5 separate regions of the Homo sapiens genome follow, and all the other regions are linked to region 2. Evidence: promoter capture Hi-C in 16 types of primary human blood cells and fetal thymus (Javierre and others, 2016). All regions are on one chromosome and are shown on one strand. Each heading gives the region's core, a stretch centred on a gene start or on the middle of the fragment in contact. The rest is flanking DNA. Distances are from core to core; before and after follow the strand shown.

Region 1 (3,319 bases), core at 691-3,190, 2.7 Mb before region 2:
TTATGCTTAATAATAACTTTTTTATGTGAAGAAAAATGAATAGCACATTTTAATTAATTGTGTATCTGGGCATTAAATTAGTAAAATAGCAGTAGTTTTTGAAAATCATCTGAAGCCAACGTTATAAAATGAATCCTTAGAAGGAAAGAGCATGGATTCAAGTAATATGACCAGAAAGGAGAAGATGAGGGGAAAAAGAGAAAGAAAAAAAAAAAGACACGTAGATGAGGATCTCTATGTAATAAATTGGCAAATATTTTAAAATATCACCTCTGGGCTGGCCCCAAATCCCTGATGTCAATTTAAGGTGCAGGAAGTTGGCAAATTAGTGATGATTTTTATCTCAAAGAATGGCGTACTTGACCTACTGGAGCTTGCAGATATCACTTCAAAATAACATTTGAGCATTTTCTAATTCAATTGCTCTAACTACTTAGCAATAGAATCAGATAATCATTATTATACTAATTTTAAACGCTATCCTTTGTCTTTTAATATATCTTATTCAGTTATTTATCTCAGACCATTTATTTCAAGAGATGGTTGTTTTATCCATGAAATACAGCAACTACTTTTAAAACTTTCTACTGATAAAAAGGTCATTCTTGATATTTCTAGTAAGTACATATATTTATTCTGCTATAACTATAGGATAAATGCCATTTTATTTTGTAGTTAATTATCTCTTTATTTTGACCTTTTCATGTTTCCTAGAGATATTTTCCTTTATGTATTGTCATCTTAAGGATAACAATATTCTAGTTTGTTGAAATAATTAAGTACAAATCACAAGACAACAGGAGTAGAAGAAATGCTGCTGCATTGTTAGTAAGGCACTTGTTTCTGTTTTGTTTTTAACATCAATCTTATGTTTTCTCAGTATATATGTTAATTATTTGATACAAAAACAATCACTGAATATAGAAATAGAATTGACATTCTAAAATTTTAGTTGGCTATATATAACTGGTTTTATTTTGGAAACAGGGTTAATAACAACAAGCAAAACGTGATAAACAAATAAATTTAGAAAAGTGGAAGAATAATATTTATGGAGTTTCCATGCACCAGGAGAGCAGATTAAGCTTTAGAATGGGCCTTCAAAATAAATAGCTGACTTTTTTTTCACATATGTGATTGCATAGATGATGTGTGTATATAGGAATATGTGTGTATATATGTATGCATCTATAAATATGAATATATATAATTACATATACATAATAATATATGTTTATATATAACATATATAATCTTTTTTATATAATATATAACCTACATTAATATCAGTAAATTACATTATAGTGTATGTGTATGTGTGTGTGTGTGTATATATATATATATATATATATCTCCAAGAAGAGAAACATCCAAGAAGAAATTAACTTAAAGTGAATTGAAACTTTTTTTTACATTTCAGAAATCAAAGCCTGCAATTGTGACTTTAAGATCATATGTATGCCAATCACCCATGACCCTCAGTTTACCTATATAGCAAACCTGCACATGTACCCTGGAAACTAAAATAAAAGTTTAAAAAATGTGTTGCAGTTACTTGATTTATCAGTTTTAAGTAATTCTTTCTTATGAAATGTGAGCAAATCAGGGCACTAAAGCTTTCCCCCTTCTTCCCTCACTCCATCTCCTGTTTCTTTGTTATTGATTCAAATTATTCCTCTATTCCAAAATTCCTGTTGTTATACTTTAATTTGTCCTTACAAACAGTGGCCCAAATCAAAAGCTATTGTACTTTATATGAGGGTTTCTCTCATGCTGTAAAATGTTATTTTCTTCCAGAAATGGAGAAAAACATTTGCTTATATGTGAAAACAAGTAAAATTCATGAAACAAAACAAAACTAAAATAATAATTTCATAATTATAGGACACTTAAATGTGGTAACAGCATTGTCAGAAGCTGGGTTCTTAGAGGTCTCAGGAAACATCAGTGCCCAACCTAGAAAGTATTTATTTACTCTGTGAATGGCAGCTGGTCCTTTCTTCTCTGAGGGTAGGTTGTCAACCGATATATCTTTGAATCAATACCATTTTGAAGGAGTCACCAAGTTAATTTATCCTTTTAGTGTCTCCTGTATATGGATTGACAGCTAGGCAGACAGCAAGAGTATAAACCTGTGTTTCTTAAGATAAAATAGTTGGTGGGGAATTCTAGACTACTGTAATTATTATCACTGTAACTTAAACATAATGGCAGGTTGCCTTTTGATTCAGACTCTGATGGTGTAAAGGGATTTGAAAAATGAAACAAGCTTTCAGTTCCCTGTTTACAGAGGATTGAGTTGGCATCACATAGGCAAAGCAGGGACAAGATTTCAATAAAACTGACAGAAATAAAACGTCTTAATTTCCATTTATCCATAATTATGATTGTCATGCTGATTAATCACAGGCCATGTCTTAAGCTTCTCAGGATTTAGGGACAGGTGAAATTGTAATAATACCTTTGATCAATTATTGGGTGTTAATTATTCTAAATGAAATTGGTCCTCTTGACCCTTTCCTTGTCACACAGGAAAAGGTTCCTGCTTTGTCCTCTTGAGCCTCGTTTTGTTGGAGCATCTGCTTCCATTGGCTCTGACAGGAGCTCTTTCCTTAGGGAATCCCGTTCTTGCCTTTTTCCTTCTAATTATTCAGAATGTTTCCCTCTTTCCTTTAGCTACCTGCATCAAGCAAAGCTGTATTCAGTGATTTCTCCTGAGATGACGCTCTGCTGGCAACTCACCATCGACAACACAAATGTGACAAGAAGTCATCTAACAACTTGAAACTATAAACAAGAAAAAGGTATACCCATGAAGCTTAAGCAAAGAGGATATCCGTGTAGTAGGCTTCCTGGTGTTTCAAAGATCTTCCAGAAAAGGGACTTTATTATCTTGCACTCAGTGGGTGCTTAAAATATACTCTTTGATGATACCAATGATGATTGTTTTAGTTGTGCCTCTTTCAAAGGAAATACAAGGTAATCATTATGGCTTTTCAGCTGCTGAGTTGGGCAGCCTTTCAAATTTGTTTGCTGCTTATTCAATTTTCCTTAATATTAGCTGCACATGGAATAACCTGGGGAAGTTTAAAATATTGATGCCTGGATCTCATCCTCAGAGATTCTAACTTACTTGGGCTAGCATGTAGCCAGGACCTTGGGATTTTAAAAACCTCTTAGGTGATGTGTACATGCCAGCAAGGTTGAGAATCATTGTCTAAATTGCATTAGCTGGTATATGCTGGGTGCTTTGGTGCCAGCCCTGTGCTAGGTGCATTACATATGGCATCTTGTTTGCTCAGCAAAACAATGCCATGAA
Region 2 (3,431 bases), core at 690-3,189:
GTCTCGCTCTGTCGCCCAGGCTGGAGTGCAGTGGTGTGATCTCGGCTCACTGCACGCTCTGCCTCCCGGGTTCACACCATTCTCCTGCCCCCGCCTCCCAAGTAGCTGGGACTACAGGCGCCCGACACCACGCCCGGCTAATTTTTTGTATTTTTAGTAGAGACGGGGTTTCACCGTGTTAGCCAGGATGGTCTCAATCTCCTGACCTCGTGATCCGCCTGCCTTGGCCTCCCAAAGTGCTGGGATTACAGGCGTGAGCCACCGCGCCCGGCCAAACATATTTTTTTTTTTTGTATTTAACTTACCACAAAGCCCATGAGAAGGCAGACAGTTCTGAAACCATATTCTGGAATCTCTGCCCTGCAGGTCCCTAAAGAGTTAACTCAAAGCCAGATACCCAATGGAGGCTCAATTAATGTGAATTAGAAGCAACAATGAACCAAATCCACAGATAACATTACTCACACTAGATTGAAAAGTGTAATCTAGAAATATTAAGTGTGAAAAAGTTTCTCAATTATAGTTAAATCAGAATTCTTTAATATGTAAAGGCAGTGAACGGAATGTTAAAAAAAAATGGAATGTCACATAACTTCTATAAATTAGGTGGTAGAGGACACCAGTTATGATGCATTTCATGAACCCCTACTCAAAAAGAAGCTACTTGTTGAAACAAAATATGAATTTAAGTGTTTTTTTTAAGTGTTTTTTTGGGGGGGAGGGGCATGGTTGTTCTCTTCCAAAAACTGAAAAAAAAAAAAAAAAAAAAGACGAAAAGAGCATATATGTTATGCCCTTTTCAAAGCAAACCTTAGGTCTTATTGGAATTGTTTCCTAATGCTATATAAATGAGACACGTGAGGCAATATACACTCCCCCACAGATGAATAACATAACATTTAGGTTACCAGGGCCTTTCACAATCTAACCTAACACCACTTTCCCAGGTTCATTTATCACTGGTTTCTTCTCAATACCTTCTGGTCAAAGACCACCAGAAGCACACATGTAATTGACAAACGGGGTTTATTATTCATTGCAGTAAGGGTTCTCTGTAAAATATTAGAAAATGCTTATTGGATTTGGGATTTTTTTCTCCTAATATTGGCTACCTTACCAAATCTTAGGAGGAAGAAAGGCTAGATCAAGGCTAAGATTGTAATTGGTAAAGAAGCAGAAGTCATCAAATTAAACCAGATAGGGTGATGTCCGGTCATTTTCGTGGCTTGGACAATGTTTTATCTGTGTTCAGATGTGATTACACAGTGATCATATTCTTTTCTTAATGAACACTGTCAGAGTGGTCTTGTTGGATGCTAATGCTTGCTGAAATTGTGTACGTTCATCAGGCGGACACCAGTTCCTAGTCCAGGCTAGCTCCAGGTGTCAGAGGCCACTTTTCCCTTCTACTCCTCACACATGCTGTACTCATACCAGACTTGAGTTTTCCCTGCCCTTTGTTCTTCCTTCTTTTTTATTCGATTCCCATTATCTTTAGTGATCATTCCCTTAGCATTTCAGTTTTCTCTCTGAAGTCCTTTGTGCTGCACGTTGTTTGATTACTTGTGTTTATGCTTTGTTTCTTCAGCTAGGATCATTAGCACATATCTCTCAGCATTGGCAAAAGTCCTCGAAATCATTGACACCTAGCATATACTTTATTTTTAAAAAAGAAAGAAAGAAGAGAAAAGGGATGGGTTTATTGTCCTTTTCAACAGACTAGAGTATACGGGGTGAAACTGCTTCACTTGATTCAATAAAATCGTTTCCGGTAACAGGCCCCAGGAATCCTAGACCTAAGCCTGGCGCGAAACTACATTTCCCACAATCCTTCGGGGGCTGATAAGGCTCCGCAATGGTCTGAACTACAATTCCCACAATCCAGGGCGATTTCCGCTTTGTCGCGTTTCCTCAAGGCTCCGCCCCATTTCCCATCTTTCTTTTCAGTCCTTGCGCACCGGGGAACAAGGTCGTGAAAAAAAAGGTCTTGGTGAGGTGCCGCCATTTCATCTGTCCTCATTCTCTGCGCCTTTCGCAGAGCTTCCAGCAGCGGTATGTTGGGCCAGAGCATCCGGAGGTTCACAACCTCTGTGGTCCGTAGGAGCCACTATGAGGAGGGCCCTGGGAAGGTTAGTGTGTAAGGGGCACGGCTTCGTTGGGGGAGGGGGCGCTTGGCTGTGACTCGCGCACCTGCAAGGCCGCCTCCGGGCTGTGGCGTGGGAGATGATAGCCAGAAACCAGGCTGAGACGCAGACTAGCATTCCACTTAGCCCAAGGACCAGTGAGGAAGCTGGGCATCCTAGCGCGTAGCCGCTAAAGGAATGGGCAGGTAGATCCGGAAGCCCTGCCTCCATCAGCCACCTGACGCCCCCTCCCCCGCCCCGCAGAAAGCCCTGAGATGGCTCCGGGAGGCCACGGCTGTAGGTGTGTTGGTTAAATCCGAGCTGGAGGTCATCGGACCCGAAATGAAGGTCATTGGAAAATCATGAGGAAATCAGGGCCTCTGGTTATGGAACAGGCTTTTTAAACTAGCTGCCTAAGTTAGAAGTACTAACCCTTCACCTCAGTTAAGGCTGGGTTTGGCCTCAGGTGTAAATAACTTAAACCACATAGCAGTAACAATCTCGGAGGGTCACACGAGGCCTAGTCATAAAGGCCAGAGAAGGTGCTTGGTAATGAAAAACAAACAAACAAAAAAAACTGTGGGCCAGGTGCGGTGGCGCACGCCTGTAATCGGGAGGCTAAGGCGTTCGGATCACCTGAGGTCAGGAGTTCCAGACCAGCCTGGCCAACATGGCGAAACCCTGTCTCTACTAAAAAGTACAAAAAAATTAGCCGGACGTGGTGGTGTGTGCCTCTAATCCCAGCTACTCGGGAGGCTGAGGCAGGAGAATCGCTTGAACCCGGGAGGTGGAGGTTGCAGTGAGCCGAGATCGGGCCACTGCACTCCAGCCTGGACAGAGCGGGACTCCGTCTCAAAAAAAAAAAAAAAGAAAAAAAAAGAGCTGTATTGCACTTAACATTGCCATGTATCTTCTAAGGTGACTACTTAGGACAGTAGTTTTTTCGATTTTCTAAAGTAAGAAACTTCTCACTATTTGACGTTTGAGTCCTCAAGACCATTCATTGCCTAGTGCTTAGTAAAGCCAGATTATTTCTTGCCATGTAGTGTTTTGTGATGAAGGTCATAGGATTTGAAAGATAAATGTTTAAAACGATGTTATGATTTATGGCATATGTTAACCTGATGATGTAAAATATAACTAGCATTTCCTGTATACTTGTATTTTGATTATTAAGCAGATGATTTGAGATTCAATTTCGATTACTTTTTCTCTTTTTTTCCAACAGAATTTGCCATTTTCAGTGGAAAACAAGTGGTCGTTACTAGCTAAGATGTGTTTGTACTTTGGATCTGCATTTGCTACACC
Region 3 (3,314 bases), core at 35-2,534, 2.9 Mb before region 2:
GGTGGTTGGATCATGAGGTCAAGAGATGGAGACCATCCTGGCCAACATGGTGAAAACCCGTCTCTACTAAAAATACAAAAATTAGCTGGGCATGGTGGCTCATGCCTGTAGTCCCAGTTACTTGGGAGGCTGAGGCAGGAGAATCACTTTAACCCAGGAGGCGGAGGTTACAGTGAGCTGAGATTGCGCCACTGCACTGTAGCCTGGGTGACAGAGTGAGACTCCATCTCAAAAAAAAAAAAAAAAAAAAGACAACCACCACCACCACCACAACAAAAATTACATGTATCTACTCTGATACTGCATACAAATAAAGACTTTTCTTTTTAAAAGAGAAAAGAATGGATTTCCAATTATTGCCAATGTGTCATGCCTGAAGGACCCTTTTCCCACCCATCAGTTTGAGGTGACAGTTACTGGCTTATAGCAATATCCATCATGATTCAAAATTTAGAATATTATTATGCAGAAGTCACATACTGTTCACCTCTCATCCTCACCATGGACACTGTCATCTGGTGCAGGCAAGGAGGAATAGAGAAAGGAGAAAATTTTGCAAATGAGGAGAAAAAATTGCCAAGAATACATAGTAATATAAATTAAGGTCACATTTTGTTTTATACCAATTACAGTAAATTGGTATTTTCCTTTAAATGTTTATGTCTCAAACTCTCCTTTCAAACTTTTTTTTTTTTTTTTTACTTTTAGGCAGCTAATGCACTACCATTCATAATGACTATTAGACTAAGCTAGGTTTCAATTTTTGCTATGATCTATCAGTTTAAGGGTGCAGATAGTCAACGATGGCACAAGGCTCCTCTCATTCTGCTCTCTGAAAATTAATTTGAAAGAGTAACCATATGTAATGAAATAAGGACACAGTAAAAGAGTGCAGATGATTAATGCCTTCTATTTTCAAAATAAAGTTTTTCAACTCTGCATTAACATTTATTTTCCTTATCTCTGGTGCACTAGCTATTAGTTTAATAAAAGGAGACCTTCCCAGTGACAAGGACATTATCTTATTAATTTCTGTAATTCTGTTACACTATCAGTCAAGAGGTTTACTTTCAAGTGATGTTAATATAAATGAGAGTTTTCCTTTTAGTCTTATAGTTCCAAGGCTCAAAGCCTGTATATGGATTGTAAAGCTAATACTAGACTAATTGCAATGTGACTTGAGAGCTAGAATAGAACCATCTGCAAAATTTGGAACGATGTGACAAAAATAACAAAATTTTGCAGGAAAAACATAATGCTTTGCATTTAGAAATAGACGTCCCAAATATGGAAAAGCTATTAAACTTATTTCGTGTAGCTTCACAAGGCAAAACTGGACCAAGTGGGTGGAAGTCAAGAAATCAAATTTTGCACACTGTCAGGAAGAATTTCCTAATAAGTCATCTAAAAGTGAAATGAATTGCCCTGTGAAGTACACAGTGCTTTCTGCTACCGCAGGTGTTTAGGCAGATCAACAAACATCTGCCTATTGTATTACACAGGGGATTTGAGAGTAGGTGGGTGTTTGGAACACATTTGGTCCTTTGATCTCTACAGTTTCAAATCTGACCTTTCAGCTCAGAATTTTGAAGGATGTAAAGATGGATAAAACAACTCATTAACAAAGACACTATAAATAAATAAAAGACATTTTAACAGTTGATTATATTCAACACATGAAAAAGTATATGAGGCGGGGCACGGTGACTCACGCCAGTAATCCCAGCACTTTGGGAGGCCGAGGCGGGTGGATCACCTGAGGTCAGGAGATCAGGACCAGCCTGGCCAACACGGTGAAACCCCGTCTCTACTAAAAGTACAAAAAATTAGCCAGATGCAGTGGTCCCAGCTGCTTGGGAGGCTGAGGCAGGAGAATTGCTTGAACCCGGGAGACGGAGGTTGCGGTGAGCCGAGATCGCTCCACTGCTCTCCACCTTGGGCGACAGAGCGAGACTTCGACAAAAACACACACACACACACACACACACACACACAAAATCTATATGAAGTAATCGAGGTACGAATAAAATATTAAGAGAGAAATGAGAAAGAAGTGACTAATTCCAGCTAGTGGCACAATGCAAGGTTACCGGGAGGAAGTGTTACATGAATGATGCAAGCATGAGCCATGTTTCAGGTGGGAGGGATAAAATGATAAGGGATTCCTGCTTGAGAGAAGTGTGTAAGCTCAGAATTAGAGGAGTAGAACTGCATAAATGTTTGGGAAGAGAAGTTAGATATCCTGAGAGATTTTAATGATTGAAATCTTTGTGATAAATTTGGCTTTTACTTTGGCCTGCCTTTCATGGCTTAAAAAAATAGATATAACATTGTCAAATATCCGGTATAAATTATAAACTTTTCAGTCATCATTTTTCTTTTTATAACTTAAAATCACATTAGATAGTGATAAAGATGGATATGAACATCTCAAACTGCTTCCAGAATTTTGTCTTGTTAGCAATAAGACTGTAGAGCATCTACAAAAGACGCAGGAACTGAGTCCCCACTAAAATTTATCTCAGCACAGCATCTTCAGGGAGCTAGGCACACTGATAATCCCTCTAGGCTTGAAGGGTTTGGTCTCTCAGAGAAATAAGGCCATGAAGATAAGGGTTACTCAGAACATAGTCAAGCCAACCCACTGATTTTTGGCATTTCTTAAAGTGGAAAGAAAAGGAAATTTTCCAACTAGCTGATTTTCTTACTCGTTAGTCTGTCTAGTGTCTTTTGTTTCTGGAAGCTTTCAATATGCCCTCTTTTTTTTTCCCCCAACAGTTTTCCTTTTTTTTTTGAGACAGTCTCGCCCTGTTGCCCAGGCTGGAGTGCAGCGGAGCAATTTCAACTCACTGAAGACTCCGCCTCAACCTCCCAAATAGCTGGGACTACAGGCATGCACTACCACACTTGACTAATTTTTGCATTTTTAGTAGAGATGGGGTTTTGCCATGTTGGCCAGGCTGGTCTTGAACTCTTGACCTCAAGAGATATGCCTGCTTCAGCCTTTCAAAGTGCTGGGATTGCAGGTGTGAACCACCATATCTGGCCTCCAGCAATTTTCTTATGCCATGCCTGGGTGTGGGTGTTTTACTTTTTGGTGTTTATCCTGTTGGGGCATTGCAGTGCTTCCTGAATCTGTGACTTGTTGGACAGCCACAGACATTATTGCTAAAATATTTTTTCTGCCCCATTTGCGTTAACTCCATCTGAGATGCCTATTTCTATATCTCACATGTCTTTTACTACCACTGCCCCCTGCTCCTGGAAGTTTCATTTTTCTCTCCAATTTTAGCCTGGTTACTTTTGTCAGACCT
Region 4 (3,114 bases), core at 361-2,860, 2.8 Mb before region 2:
AGAAAGCAAAAGAAACTTCTTGCCAATATGGAGAAAGTCTGAGTGGTCTGGATAGATAAAACCAGCCAGAACATTCCCTGAAGCCAAAGCCTAATCCAGAGCAAGGTCCTAACTCTCTTCAGTTCTATGAAGGCTGAGAGAGATGAGGACACCAAAGAAGAAAAGTTGGCAGCTAGAAGAGGTTGGTCATGAGGTTTAAAGAAAGAAGCTATTCCATAACATACCAGTGCAAGGTGAAGCAGCAAGTGCTGATGGAGAAGACGCAGCGAGTGATCCAGAAGATACAGCTAATATCATTGATAAGGCAGCTACACTAAACAACAGATTTTCAATGGAGATAAAACTGACTTCTATTGGAAGAAAATGCTATCTAGAACTTTCTTTCTTTCTTTTTTTTTTTTGAGACAGAGTCTTGCTCTGTCGCCCAGGCTGAAGTGCAGTGGCGCAATATCAGCTCACTGCAAGCTCCGCCTCCTGGGTTCACGCCATTCTCCTGTCTCAGCCCCCCGAGTAGCTGGGACTACAGGCGCCCGCCAACTTTCATGTCTACAGAGGTGAAGTCAACACTTGGCTTTAAAGCGTCAAAGGACAAGATGAATCTTTTTTTTAGGTGCTCATGCAGCTGGTGACTTACAAGTGGAAGCCAATGCTCATTTACCTTTCCAAAAACCCTATGTCCCTTGAGAATTATGCTAAATTTATTCTGTCTTTGCTCTATAAGTGGAACAACAAAGCTTGGATGAGAGCACATCTGTTTACAGCTTGGGTTACTGATTATATTAAACCTACTGTTGAGAGCTACTGCTGAGAAAAAAAAAATCATTTCAAAATATTACTGCTCATTGACAGCGCATCTGGTCACCCAAGAGCTCCAATGGAGATGTACAAGGACATTAATGTTTTTATACCTGCTAACAGAACATCCATTCTATAGCCCATGGATCAAGAAGCCATTTCAACTTTTAAGTCTTATTATTTAAGAAATACATTTTGTAAAGCTATAGCTGCCATAGGTAGTGATTCCTCTGTGGATCTGGGCAAAGTTAATTGAAAATCTTCTGGAAAGGATTCACCATTGTAGATGCTACTAAGGACATTTGTGATTCATGGGAAGAGGTCAAAATATCAACATTAACAGAATTTTGGAAGAAACTGATTCCAACCCTCGTGGATGACTTTGAGGGATTCAAAACTTTAGTAGAGGAAGTCACTGCAGATGTGGTGGAAATAACAAGAAAACTAGAATTAGAAGTGGAGCTTAAAAATGTGACTGGATTGTTGCGATCTCCTGATAAAACTTGAATGGATGAGGAGTTGCTTCTTAGCAAATAGCAAAGAGAGTGGTTTCTTGTGATGGAAACTTCTCCTAGTGAAGCTGCTGTGAGCATTGTTGAAATGGCGATAAAGGATTTAGAATATTCCACAAACTTAGTTGACAAAGCAGTGAGAGGGTTTAAAAGGATCGACTTTAATACTGAAAGAAATTTTACTGTGGGTAAAATACTATCAAATGGCATCACATGCTACAGAGAAAAAGTTCAAGAAAGGAAGAGTTAATCAATGTGGCAAACTTCACTGTGACCTTATTTTAAGAAATTGAGGCTGAGCATGTTGGCTCATGCCTGTAATCCCAGCTCTTTGGGAAGCGAAGGCAGGGGAGGATCACTTGAGGCCAGGAGTTCAAGATTGGTCTGGACAAAATAGTGAGACCCAGGTGCTACAAAAAAATTAAAAAATAAGAACAATTAGCTAGGCATGGTGGTGTTTGTACTGTAGCTACTTGGGATGCTGAGGCAGGAGGATTCCTTGAGCCCAGGAGTTTGACACTGCAGTGAGCTATAATCATGCCACTACACTCCAGCCTGGGCCACAGAGAGAGACTATGTCTCTTCAAATAAGAAAGAAATTGTTACAGCCACCCCAATCTTCACCAGTCATCACCCTGATAAGTCAGCTGCCATCAACAATGAGGCAAGACCCTCCACCAGCAAAAAAAATATCACTCACTGAAGGTACAGATGATAGCATTTTTTAGCAATAAAGTATTTTTAATTAAGATACGCATTTTTTTTAGATATAATACCATTAAACACTTAATAGACTGCAGTATATTTTAAACACGACTTTTATATGCACTGGGACACCAAAAAAATGGTGTGACTCACTTTATTGTGATATTTGTTTTATTGCAGGGGTCTGGAATGGACCTGCAATAACTCCAAAGTGTGCTTGTAATTTTAGTCACCCTTAGAATTATACCCATTGAATGAGAAGGTGAATGCTTATCTTATAGCAGCATTTGTCAAGGTGGACCTATGACATTATTCCTGTTTTTTCTTTTCATTTAGAAGTCATCTGATTTCAGTGTGTCTGAGATGTCATGGTGCATATGAGGCCTATATAGGACCAAGCCCCCAGGCACTCTTAGTCAAGGTACATTTCAATAACGTATTGTAAATAGGGCTTCTCAGGCAATCAGGTTCCCTGGAAGCTTTGAGTTAGGTAATGGATCTAGTAGAGAGCAGCTTAGAGTAGCAGGTGTTGGGACAGATTAAGCCTCAGGCAGAACCACTGCCTAAATCACTAACTCTGCCTGACACAAAAATTTTATTTATTTATTTATTTATTTTTTATTTTTTTGAGATGGAGTCTTGCTCTGTTGCCCAGGCTGGATGCAGTGGCGTGATCTTGGCTCACTGCAACCTCCGCCTCCCGGGTTCAAGCCATTCTCCTGCCTCAGCCTTTTGAGGAGCTGGGATTATAGGCATGCACCACCATGCCCGTCTAATTTCTGTATTTTTAGTAGAAACAGCGTTTCACCATGTTGGCCAGGCTGGTCTCAAACTCCTGACCTCAGGTGATCCACCCACTTTGGCCTCCTAAATTTAAAATGTATCCAGGTTACTGTTGAAACACCCGTCGTTTGGAGGACGTCTGAACAGAGCAAAAAAAGGACAAAGCTATCCTGTATAAAGGATACATAAAGCTGGAACCAGCCCAACAAAAAGGTACTGCCAGAAACTCTATGAAGTAACTAAGATAGGGATCATTTTGGTCTTAACAGGGATTATGAATGAGAAGGAGAGATTTAGGCAAAAGGCTCATCAGCTAGGT
Region 5 (3,003 bases), core at 229-2,728, 2.1 Mb after region 2:
TTATATATATGTATACATATGAAGTCATATAGATATTGCTTCATTTAAAATATTGCTATTAACATGATTCCTTAAAATGCCAGAGATTCCATAAAACCCCAGTACAATGTATCCTAGGTCTCAGCACCCACGGGGTTAAATATGCTAATTTGCATTCAAATGGAGACATGCATGATAATGTGAATGCAAAATATGCAGAATCTGGAGGGGTTTGAGAAATTAATTTTTCTTTCTTCTTTTCTTTTATTTTTAGCTTGGAAGGAAGAGGGACTCTTAAAAAAACATTAGGGACTTGAACCTTGTAACCTGCCATACAAAAGAGGAGAGTCCTTCCATGTAAGGATTTTAAGTCTGGAACAAAGTCTTATTTTCTAAATGTTTAAGGAACTGAATTTCCAGGCCTTTCGAACAATGGCAATCCCTGGATAAATATCTACTCCATTAGAAAGATGCAAATAGTTTACTGTAAGGCCACAGCACCGTGAGATGTGCATTCATATCTATGGCTCCTGATTGGCTCTTTCCTCCAGTAAATCAATGAATAATGTAAAACCTGATTGCTGTAAAGTGGTGGATTTTTGAAAATTTCCCTTCCCCCATTCCCTCTCGATCCAACATTCAGGAATTCAATACTCCCCAAAATAGGTTGTTTTTCTTTTATGATTTTTTAATGCTTATTGTTATTTTGGACTGGAGGGGTGGGGCTATTGGTTTTGCAAAATGAAAGTATTGCCCTGGTTTAATTATGCTGACTGTGGGAGCTCGCTTCCTGAGACAGCGCCCTAATTACCGGTGCCAAGGTGGAGAAAGGAGGGTGGTAGACAGAGGTGGACACCAAGAAAGGGAGGAAACGGAACCCGACTCTGCGGTGCTGGGCCCAAGGCAGCCACAGCTCCAAAGGGGCCCCCGGCCGTGGCCGTGACTTGACAGAGCCTCCGGTCTAACTTCTGATCAATTCCACTGCTCTCCTGACCCCTCAAGACAGTCCCCCATTCAAGCACCGCGGGTACATTTGCAAGATAAAACGCCGCAGACACTAATGCAAATACATTGCCCGAGTTCCCATCACCCTGGGTTCCTGCAGATAATTCCAGGCCACAGAAAGGAGTTCTTGCCTTCCTCAGCCGGGTCTAGACTCTAAGCAAACCGCAAAGACCTAGCTCCGTTTGGATACCAGAAGCGTCTTAAGCTGAACCGCTCCAAGTACCAATAACTAACCATGATGGTTGCATCTTGATGAATCTGAACTTGGGATAACCCTGTAAAGCGGCCTCTCACCTCCCAAAATTCAAAAGGCAAAGAGAAAAGGGAAGTGGAAAGCCACCAGATCTACTTAGCTACTGTACTAAGTTTTCCACCAAAATCTAATCAGACCCTCGCTTCCTTGCCAGGTAATTGCAACTTTGGGGCGGTTAAAGGGAGGCGAATTCTTCAAAATGCGAATTCGAATACAGAAGTGCAAAATACAAGTGCATTTTGCTCTAGGTTTAAAAGGGAAAAGCCCCCCCAAACACACCACCACCACCACCACCACAAAATTACATACAAAAATTCCCTTTTCCAACGCGAAGATTTCCTGGCATCTCTCTGCGATTGGGGGTCAAGCCGCTGGATAATTAACAGTACTGGCTAAGAAAACTCACGAGATCAACAGGTTTAACATCCGAGGCACACAATCAATTAGCTGAAGCAAAGCCCCGGACTGGCCCTCGGAGCGGCCCGCAGCGGGACTCTGCGGGCACCGGCTAGCGGGCGAGGTGAGGAGTGCGGGCGCGGGGCCGCGGCGGGCACTGCTGGCCTCGCGCCGCGGGCGAGCTGCAGCCTGAGGGCCGCCACGATACTCACTTGATCTCCCTGCGCCAGGCAATGCTGCCCCCCAAATCCAGCTGGGCAGGAACCGAGGCGCCGGCTGAAAGACAAGATCCAAAGTCACAGCACGGCCGCAGCACACAAACAGGCTTCTTTCGGCGTCTCCAAAAAAAAAAAAAAAAATGTTTTTCTCATCATTCCTCTCCCCTGCTCAACACATTTAAAACTGCCGCTCAATTCCACATGGTGATTCTTGGTTGATTGCGTCTAAAATAGTTTAAATGGGTCTTCCCTTCTGGGGAGAGGGAGAAGGGCGCAAAAGACCAAGGAGTAAAAAAAAAGCCAACTTTTACCCCCCATGCCAGGCACTTGCTCCCTGAGCCTCGGAGTGGAGAGTGAAGTGGTGTGTGCGAGGCTTGGCAAGTTTTTGGGGGGGCTGTCCAAGGTCTAGTCCAGCCCCCTCTGCCGAGGAGGACGTGCTCTGAAACTCAACCAATTTCCCCACTGCTTTTGTTACTGATGAACTGAAGCCCTATTGTTCATCCATTGCCACGGTCTTTTTCAGTCCCCACACTACGTTCTGCGTTGCCAGAGATAATGAATTTGCACCCAAACCTCTCATAGTCCCCTCCTGACAGACGGAACAAATTAGAAATGTCTCGTCTGAAGGAAGGCAATGGCTACATTTTCCTATTGTAGGATGCAAAGCACACATTTCTTTGGAAACTTCTTTTGCTTTTTTCTTTTTTTTAAAATCCTTTTCTTCTCTTTTTCTTTTTTCCTCCAGTTTTTTTTTCTCTCTCTTGGTTTCTTAAGATTCTTCTTTTTTTTTTATTACAGAATCTCCCTGTCGTTTTTCCAATGCACTGTTTTATGTAACTTGTGAGTCTTCCTAACCTTCTTCCCCTTCTTTCCTCTCCTTTCTTAAGGACTCCCTTTGCAATTTTATTTACAAACTTGGAGAATGACCTTTTGACTCGCAGACTTTTTTTTTTTTAAAGGTCTTTTGGTTCAAGTCCCCCTTCTTCACTCCTCCCCGTTTGTGTCGTGGTTGTTAAATGTGTTTAGCTAAAGACAAGCAATGCATTCTAAAGAATTTTATTCTCTAAACTCTAGAGGTATTCTAAATGTACCAGGGACGCGCCATAGGGGTCATCTATTTGAGGAGGAAGAAAAAGCGGGTGTGTGTGTGTG

The links. Contacts are between HindIII fragments. The CHiCAGO score rates a contact against its expected background, and 5 or more counts as called.
Region 1: a fragment that was not itself captured here is called in contact with the fragment with the promoter of COX7C in region 2 in 3 of 17 cell types (M2 macrophages, M0 macrophages and endothelial precursors); the score reaches 10.0 in M2 macrophages.
Region 3: a contact is called between a fragment that was not itself captured here and the fragment with the promoter of COX7C in region 2, in 1 of 17 cell types (M2 macrophages). The highest score is 6.6, in M2 macrophages.
Region 4: a fragment that was not itself captured here is called in contact with the fragment with the promoter of COX7C in region 2 in 1 of 17 cell types (M0 macrophages); the score reaches 6.1 in M0 macrophages.
Region 5: a fragment that was not itself captured here is called in contact with the fragment with the promoter of COX7C in region 2 in 1 of 17 cell types (total CD4 T cells); the score reaches 8.4 in total CD4 T cells.

The regions. Positions count from the first base shown.
Region 1 is chr5:83,909,470-83,912,788 of GRCh38, forward strand. No RefSeq gene overlaps it. Among named protein-coding and RNA genes, the nearest start is that of HAPLN1, 190 kb to the left of the region's middle. The HindIII fragment of the contact is 653 bases long and covers 1,615-2,267 here.
Region 2 is chr5:86,616,002-86,619,432 of GRCh38, forward strand. COX7C (cytochrome c oxidase subunit 7C) reads left to right here and starts at 1,940. Exons shown (of 3, transcript NM_001867.3): 1 at 1,940-2,129; 2 at 3,352-3,431. The coding sequence starts at 2,055. RefSeq lists enhancers at 1,608-1,687, 1,699-2,364, 1,751-2,045, 1,978-2,067, 2,365-3,030. The HindIII fragment of the contact is 5,230 bases long and covers 1-3,431 here.
Region 3 is chr5:83,699,964-83,703,277 of GRCh38, forward strand. The region is part of intron 1 of HAPLN1 (hyaluronan and proteoglycan link protein 1); the gene reads right to left. Among named protein-coding and RNA genes, the nearest start is that of HAPLN1, 19 kb to the right of the region's middle. The HindIII fragment of the contact is 2,913 bases long and covers 1-2,741 here.
Region 4 is chr5:83,841,051-83,844,164 of GRCh38, forward strand. No RefSeq gene overlaps it. Among named protein-coding and RNA genes, the nearest start is that of HAPLN1, 120 kb to the left of the region's middle. The HindIII fragment of the contact is 1,757 bases long and covers 733-2,489 here.
Region 5 is chr5:88,671,120-88,674,122 of GRCh38, forward strand. The region is part of intron 1 of MIR9-2HG (MIR9-2 host gene); the gene reads right to left. Among named protein-coding and RNA genes, the nearest start is that of MEF2C-AS2, 3.6 kb to the right of the region's middle. RefSeq lists enhancers at 546-1,158, 1,159-1,772. The HindIII fragment of the contact is 7,016 bases long and covers 1-3,003 here.